Linked DNA regions of Homo sapiens: region 2 is linked to region 1. Evidence: promoter capture Hi-C in 16 types of primary human blood cells and fetal thymus (Javierre and others, 2016). All regions are on one chromosome and are shown on one strand. Each heading gives the region's core, a stretch centred on a gene start or on the middle of the fragment in contact. The rest is flanking DNA. Distances are from core to core; before and after follow the strand shown.

What was found. The method cuts DNA at HindIII sites, captures the fragments that hold promoters and counts their contacts. A CHiCAGO score of 5 or more calls a contact.
Region 2: a contact is called between a fragment that was not itself captured here and the fragment with the promoter of ELMO1-AS1 in region 1, in 1 of 17 cell types (M1 macrophages). The highest score is 6.2, in M1 macrophages.

The regions. Positions count from the first base shown.
Region 1 is chr7:36,996,224-36,999,698 of GRCh38, forward strand. It overlaps ELMO1-AS1 (ELMO1 antisense RNA 1), which reads left to right and starts at 1,573. Exons shown (of 3, transcript NR_104120.1): 1 at 1,573-1,709. All of the region lies in intron 16 of ELMO1 (engulfment and cell motility 1), which reads right to left. The HindIII fragment of the contact is 6,356 bases long and covers 1-3,475 here.
Region 2 is chr7:37,197,316-37,200,790 of GRCh38, forward strand. All of the region lies in intron 13 of ELMO1 (engulfment and cell motility 1), which reads right to left. Among named protein-coding and RNA genes, the nearest start is that of ELMO1-AS1, 200 kb to the left of the region's middle. RefSeq lists an enhancer at 1,704-1,763. The HindIII fragment of the contact is 4,970 bases long and covers 1-3,475 here.

The DNA.
Region 1 (3,475 bases), core at 323-2,822:
TGTCATAGCCACACAATGCCCTTCAATGCCAAACTGAGTCCATAAGACTGTTTGTTCTGTAGATTGCAAAGTTTGTCCTAGAGTGTGCTTTTTCCTTTTAAGACCTTATCAGCTGATTTAAAAATAAACATTATTAGCTATTTTTTTCAACAATAGGATAAAAATTCAATTTAAGTAACATTTGTTAAGCTCATATATATTTCTTTCTTTTTGGTAGGCACTCTGGGGTAGAAAGGTGAGTGAGAATCAGTCCTGGTTCTTAGGGGTAGAGTCAAGAAACAGAGAGAGTAGATATGATTTTCAAGCCTTTGGAATTCTGCAGCATTGCCTCAAGGTAGCCATGAGGTGGGACAGAGAATGAATGGGAACCCATTTAAATCAAAGATAATTGGCTAAAATAAGTTTCCGAACTTAGCATATAGCTGAGTAAGTTAAGTGCTACAAGAGAGGGGAAGAAAAGTGAACATAAGAGGGAAAATTCCTCCTGTCCCCATGGAGGGACTTTGCAGGGCCCATGAGTTGGGCCTTGAAGGACAGGCAGATTTTTCACCGGAAAGAGTGAAGGTTCCTCCTTGCTGAGGGAACACAATCAGGGACAGATACTGGGAAGTGCAAGGCATGCTGGGCACTCAGTATGACTAACGATAGGTTAGTAGGAGGTGTGCTGCTAGACGTAATAGACATGTTGTTTGGAAGAGTGGTTTAGGACAGAATGTGGAGTTTTTCTATCCTGCTGGAAGAAGAGAGAGCCAGAGGTTTTTGAAGACAGATGTCTCATGAGAAGAGCTGTGTCCTAGAAAGGTGTTTCTGGCAGCTAGGGGAGAGAGAACTTAGGCTTGGGTCAAGTCCAGATTTAGGAAGACCAATTAAAAAACAAACACATCGTCTACACAAGAGATGATGGTGGCGGGAAGGCAGGATACAGAACAAACTGAGTCCATAAGTGAAAGGCACAGGGTGGCTAAGCTATGACAGGAGAAAGTGATTCTTGAGAGGAATGATTTCTTTTAAGACCAGAAAAAAAATTTAAGCTATTTCCAGGAGAGAAGGAAAATGATTTTGTTTTTTTCTGTCTTAACAACACCTTTAGATTTTCTTTTGGTGGTATTTATGGCCTGACAAAAGCCAATTGATTTTTCATGCTGGCATGTGTTCCTGCACAGAGACTGGGGCTGAGATAATGGTGCAGGAAAGTGGAGTCACAGCATTAAAAGGCAGGTGGCCCTTCTCATAGAGTGGTGAATCAGTAGGACTTGGGGACCTACTAGAGAGAAAAGGTAGGGAAGCCAGAGATCTCTCCTGGATTTCAAGTCCAAGATATGGGGTGATTGTGGTGTCACTCCTGGAGTTAGAGCCCACAGAAGCAGCAGCAGGAACGGAGCCATGAGAATGGAGAGTTTAGCTTTGGACATCCCGAGTTTGAGGAGTCTGCAGACCATCCACAGGGGTGGAGCTCAGAAGACGATGAGGGTGGAATTCTGTCTGCCTCAGGTGCTGGTTGAAGGTGGGGAGGAGGCAGTGGTAGGAGAGGAAAAGAGGAGGGCCTCAGGGAATGCCTGTGCTAAAGGGGTCAGTGCCATGGGAATGAGGAATGGAGAGGATCCCAGGAAGCACAGGAGGCAACACAAGTCAATGCCTCAGAGCCAGGGAACAGGATGAACAAGAACAATCAGAAGATGACCTTGAGCTAAATGAAGCAATTGCAGCAGGTGGGTGTGGGTGAACATCAGACCACGTCGAGGTGAGGAGGTGGGAAAGTGGAGATGTCATTCTCTCCCGGAAAATTTGGCAGTGCAGAGACGGACAGAGATTGGATAAGAACTTGAAAGAGGAACAGGGTTGGAAAATATTGTTTAAGGAAAGGAATGATTTTGGTATATTTTTAGGCTGAAGAGAAGAGATGGGGGTGGGGGAGGATGCGAATAGCATGAAGGTGTAAGGGATAAAAGATGTATTTTTATAAATTTTTTGATGTCTCTCTTCTTCATCAGAGCAGGGATTCAGAACAATGTGACTTCTTTCCAGTCTTAAATTTAGAACAACTCAACGACTCCTCTCAATTCCCACTTGCCTCTTAGAAATCATGTCTTTTGTGGCTACAGAGGTTTTCAAGTATTCAAAATATATATTAATGCACTTTGGAGTCGTATTTCTTCTCTTGAGCTCAGTTATATTTTTAGTTATCCTTTAATTTTTTTTCTAAAAATGTTGCTAGTAACTGGAACAATAATAGTTATTTTATTTCTTCCACGTATATTCAATGTGCCATTTGTACATATATCTTAGGTGCATTGTATACATATATAAATATATATATGTCTGTATCTATATCTGTATATCTATATCTATCTTGCATGTATGTTCATTTCCAAAGTCACAGTAAAAAAAATTTTTAAGGAGAGAGTGGTTCACAGGGTCAAGGGCTACAAAGGTGGCAAACAAGATTGAGATTTAAAACTGTCCACCGGAGGCCATTCTTTGTCAAAATCAGTGACTTTTGTGGCTAAAGAGGTTTTCAAGGACTGACACTATATTTTAGTGCTTTTTAGAGTCCTATTTCTCTTCTTTTGCTCAGTTATATTCTCGGTGTGGGCAGAAGGCAGGCTGCAGTGGATTAATACATGAAAAGGCGAGCTGGGAAACTGAGGCAATGACTTCAGAAACCGAGCTGCAGGGGCACAGGTGAATAGGGGGTTGAGAAAATCATTTATTTATTATTAAGAATGTGGGAGATTTGTGTGTGTTTATATTCTGGTGAGAAGACAGCATGTGAGAGGAAGAGACTAATGATGCAAAGATTAGAAATGATAACGGACAGAGCCCCAGAGCAGGTGAGAGGGGATGAAATTCAAAGCACAGAAGGAGGCCATCCCCGGGGCCACAGCATTGTCTAGGAGGGAGGGTGGTGAGTGCAGGATAGGAGAAAAGCCCCGGGTCACGCAGGAGGTCACAGGCAGAGCTGGACTAGAATCCATGCCTCTCCATGCCTCATCTGGAGCGCCATGTGTGCTGTGTGATCTTCGTGTCATTTCCCTCATGGGAATGGCCCCAAATGCTTTTCATTGATTAAGATGAGCAGAACAGAACTACAAATTTTGCCATTCAGACGTGGTCCAATATTGGCCATTTCATGTGGTTCCACCTAATCTTGGTTCATTTCATCCTCAAAACAACTCCATGACGATCAGTCTCTAGACGAAGAGACCGGGATACAGGGCAGGGCAATTAACCTGCTCAAGCTCACCCAGCAAGGAAACGAAGGAGCTAGGGTGTGAATCCCACTCCTTGGGTCCAGGGCCAATGCTCCTGACTTAGACTTTACTACAACTTATTATGGTGAGTTAAATGATCACAGAATAAAGAAAGAGAAATAGGTACTGTGAATAATAGAAGAAGACTGTGTCAGAAACCAACAGTAAATGCTTATGGGTAAATACAACTGATTCCACGAATGTACAATAATTTTTGGTTGAGC
Region 2 (3,475 bases), core at 541-3,040, 200 kb after region 1:
GGAAAGGTTTTGACAGTCTTCCTACACATACAAAATGCCATCCCCAGAATTAGAATCCCACGCCATGAAGCCAGCTCCCAGCATAAAAATTACTTCCCGGCAGACGTGAAACAGACATGTCCGAGTCTGGACGTCGTGCTCACACCTCCTCTCCCGAGGTCACATCACACTGAATTCAGAGGTAGGAAGGGCACTGTGACAAATAGTCACCACTTGAAAAAATGGAAAACAAAATAAAAAGTACCACAACAGCACACTGTCTCAGGAGAAAGGATAAAGATAGAAGGCATGCTAGCTTTGCGTGGAGCTGATTGATGGCCATCAAAAGCAGGTCAATGGGAAGCAGGTAACTGGATCACAGGACTCTTAACTGGTCATTCCTTCCCTCTCTTGCCTGCACCCCAGAATAACCAGCATGATTCTCAGGGGTGCTTTGATATGATCCTACTAGAGGCAAAATCACGAGTACAAGCACCTACAGAAAATCATCAGAGGAAGAGGTGCTGGATGCCTATAACTACCTTTCCCAGGTACCAGGACCCCATCACCACTCAGCCCTGCCAGACTCTGGTGGTCCTCTGTCCTAGCACTGTCCAGCCTAGGTCCAAGGCACTCTCCAAAGGGTATCGTGGATGGAGTCATCCAATTGAAAAATGCTTCCTGTCATGGACAGTAATATTGATTTAATATATGTTGTGGTTTTGAGTCTTATCTGCTTTTGAAAATCTGCACAAGAGCAGGCAGCATAAGGACATCCTCGGCCATGTGCCTACATGCTAATTCCTGAGTAGCAAAAATACAGAGCAAAAAATCCACCGCTTCCTTCACTAAAGAGGCTCTTTGAGGGGTATAAAAGTCCTGCACTGCTAAGCACTCTTACGAAATTCTCTAGAATTCATGGACTTTGGGATATGCCACTCCTGACAATTAACTGTTTTTGAAGCCATGTATTTCTACTCTCAGACCCAGCTGGTTATAGTCAAATGAAGAATGTCCCCAGTCATCTGGGTTACTGTAAATGCATTCTGCAGACTCATTTCCACCATCAGATCCAAATGACAATCATCAATTGTAAAAACTTACTAAAACTGGCTCCATGCCAAGGCTTCTCAGAACTTAACATCAATTAACTCATTAATGTCCATAACAAGCCTGGGTGGGAGATACGACTATATCCAACTCACTAATGAGGCAAGAAACACTTAGGTAAATTGTTCAAGATCACACAGCTAATGAGCAATGAAGCTGGGATGCAAAACCAGGCAGTCTGGCACCAAAGGCTGCACTCGTAAAAGCTATGTTTTATTAGCCTCAAACACAATTGACTTGCTTATACATTACGAGACCCTGACGTTTCTTTGCCCTTGGTTCCCTATGTGTCACCCTTGCACCTGCTGGATGGTGCCCTTTTGCTCCAAAGCGCCATGTGCAAAGAAAGGATGCCAAGGAAGTTTGCACAATACACTCAGGGACGAAGGATTGACACTGTTTAATATGTTGCCTCTCCTTCCGCCACAGCCAGGGGACAGAGTTATTGGAGATTTTGAGCTAAAAGGGGGAAGGAGGAAGATTCTGGCTGGAAAAGCATTTTTCTGAACCTGCTAAACTTACCCACTTAGAAGAGTCCCCACTAAGTCCTCCACTTCATGAACACATCAGAGCTGCTCTTTATTGAAGTGCCATCAGCCTGCAGAGTTTCTCACACACATGCCTTTGATAGGCGCGCCCCCTAGTGGACCAGAGAACAGATTCAACCCTAACTGCCCACAAATGTCCCTCCTAAGGCACCACAATGCGTGCTAAATAGGAAAGGAGTTTGGAAAAACAGGACTGGAAGAAACCTGTCTCTTCACCTGGTGTTCAATAACCATTCCTGAGAAATTGTGTCTGGAGTTAAAGTTAATTACCGTAAAAAGTAAGAAGAACGAAGGTCAAGTATTATCATGGTAATGAATCATAGGTCATTTGTTTTTAAAATTTTTCCCTTAAAATAGTTCCTCTAAAAATATGAAAACGGGCTGAACATGGTGGCCCACATCTGTAATCCCAGCATTTTGGGAGGCTGAGGTGGGAGGTGGAGGTTGCAGTGAGCCATGATGATGCCACTGCACTCCAGCCTGGGCAAAAGAACAAGACCCTGTCTCAAAACAAAACAAAGTTTTAAAAGTACAATTATTCATGCATCCCCTTTTCAGAAGGAGTCCACAGGTCATGGGTGCTTCTGAAATTAGATTACTCCCAGCAATAAGTACTCCTCCTTGCTCCCTCCCCATGCCGGAGTAGGAAGAAGGGAGTAACATATCCCATACGAAAGTCACCAAACAGATGGAAATGGTGGCAACAGCACATGCCTTGCAGCAAGAGCAAAACATGGGCCAACTCTTCACCTGAGACAGTGACAGAGAGCTTGTGTTAGGACTGTCCTTAGGGGCCCCACTGCACCAGTTTGGATGTCCTTTCTCAATGCAGCTGACAGCAAAGGTGGATCACAGAAGAAAGATCTGCAAGTATTCTAAGTGGGAGTTCTTGATCTCTCTGCACCCCTAGGAAGTATGATGATGCTACACTGAAGTGGAAATGGCCCCACGAGACCTTGAGTTATCTGAGAAGAGCCCACTGTGCAGAGGCCCTGCCCCATGACTTAATGTGCTTGGTTCACTTGGTTCAATGACAGGAAATAAACCTGATCTTCTTCAGTTTTTCAAGAGAGCTTTCCAAAGCTAACCTTTTCTTTCCTACATGTGCAGCTACAACTTGTTTTTTATCCCCCCACAGACAGATAGGGTTTCGCTCTGTTGCCCAGGCTGGAATTCAGTGATGTAATCATAGCTTGCTGCAGCCTTGACCTTCTGGGCTCAAGAGATCCTCCTGCCTCAGCCTCCCAAGCAGCTGGGACTACAGACGCATGCCACCAGGCCAAGCTAATTAATTTTTTTTTTTTTTTTGTAGAGACAAGAGTGTGACTTTATTGCCCAGGCTAGTCTTGAACTCCTGGCCTCAAGTGATCCTCTCTCCTCTGCCTCCCAAACTGCTGAAATTATAGGAGAGAGCCACTGTGCCCAACTAGCAGCTACAACTTTAAGACAACTCTGCATATAAAATTAAACATGAAGACAGTGCATGCCATTCTCTCTGTCATTTGACCAAAAGCATCCAAGAAAGACAGCACAGAGGCAACCCTGAACATGTACAGGCAGGGTGCTGGCAATCCTCTCTTCACCTGTGACGAATGGGCCACCTGAAAAGGATGCCCACCTGCCAATCAGTGAAGTGTGCAACCAAACTCCCTGACAGTTTTTGCTTGACCCATCAGCAGCTTCATAGGCCACCCACTTTCGCTTCTCTTCCCTTTTAAAATTCCCCTTTATGGCCAGGCGCCATGGCTCACACCTGTAATCCAAGCACCTTGGGAGGCCAAGGCGGGTGGGTCGCTTGAGCTCAAGAGTTTGAGACCAGCCTGGGCAACATGGTGAAA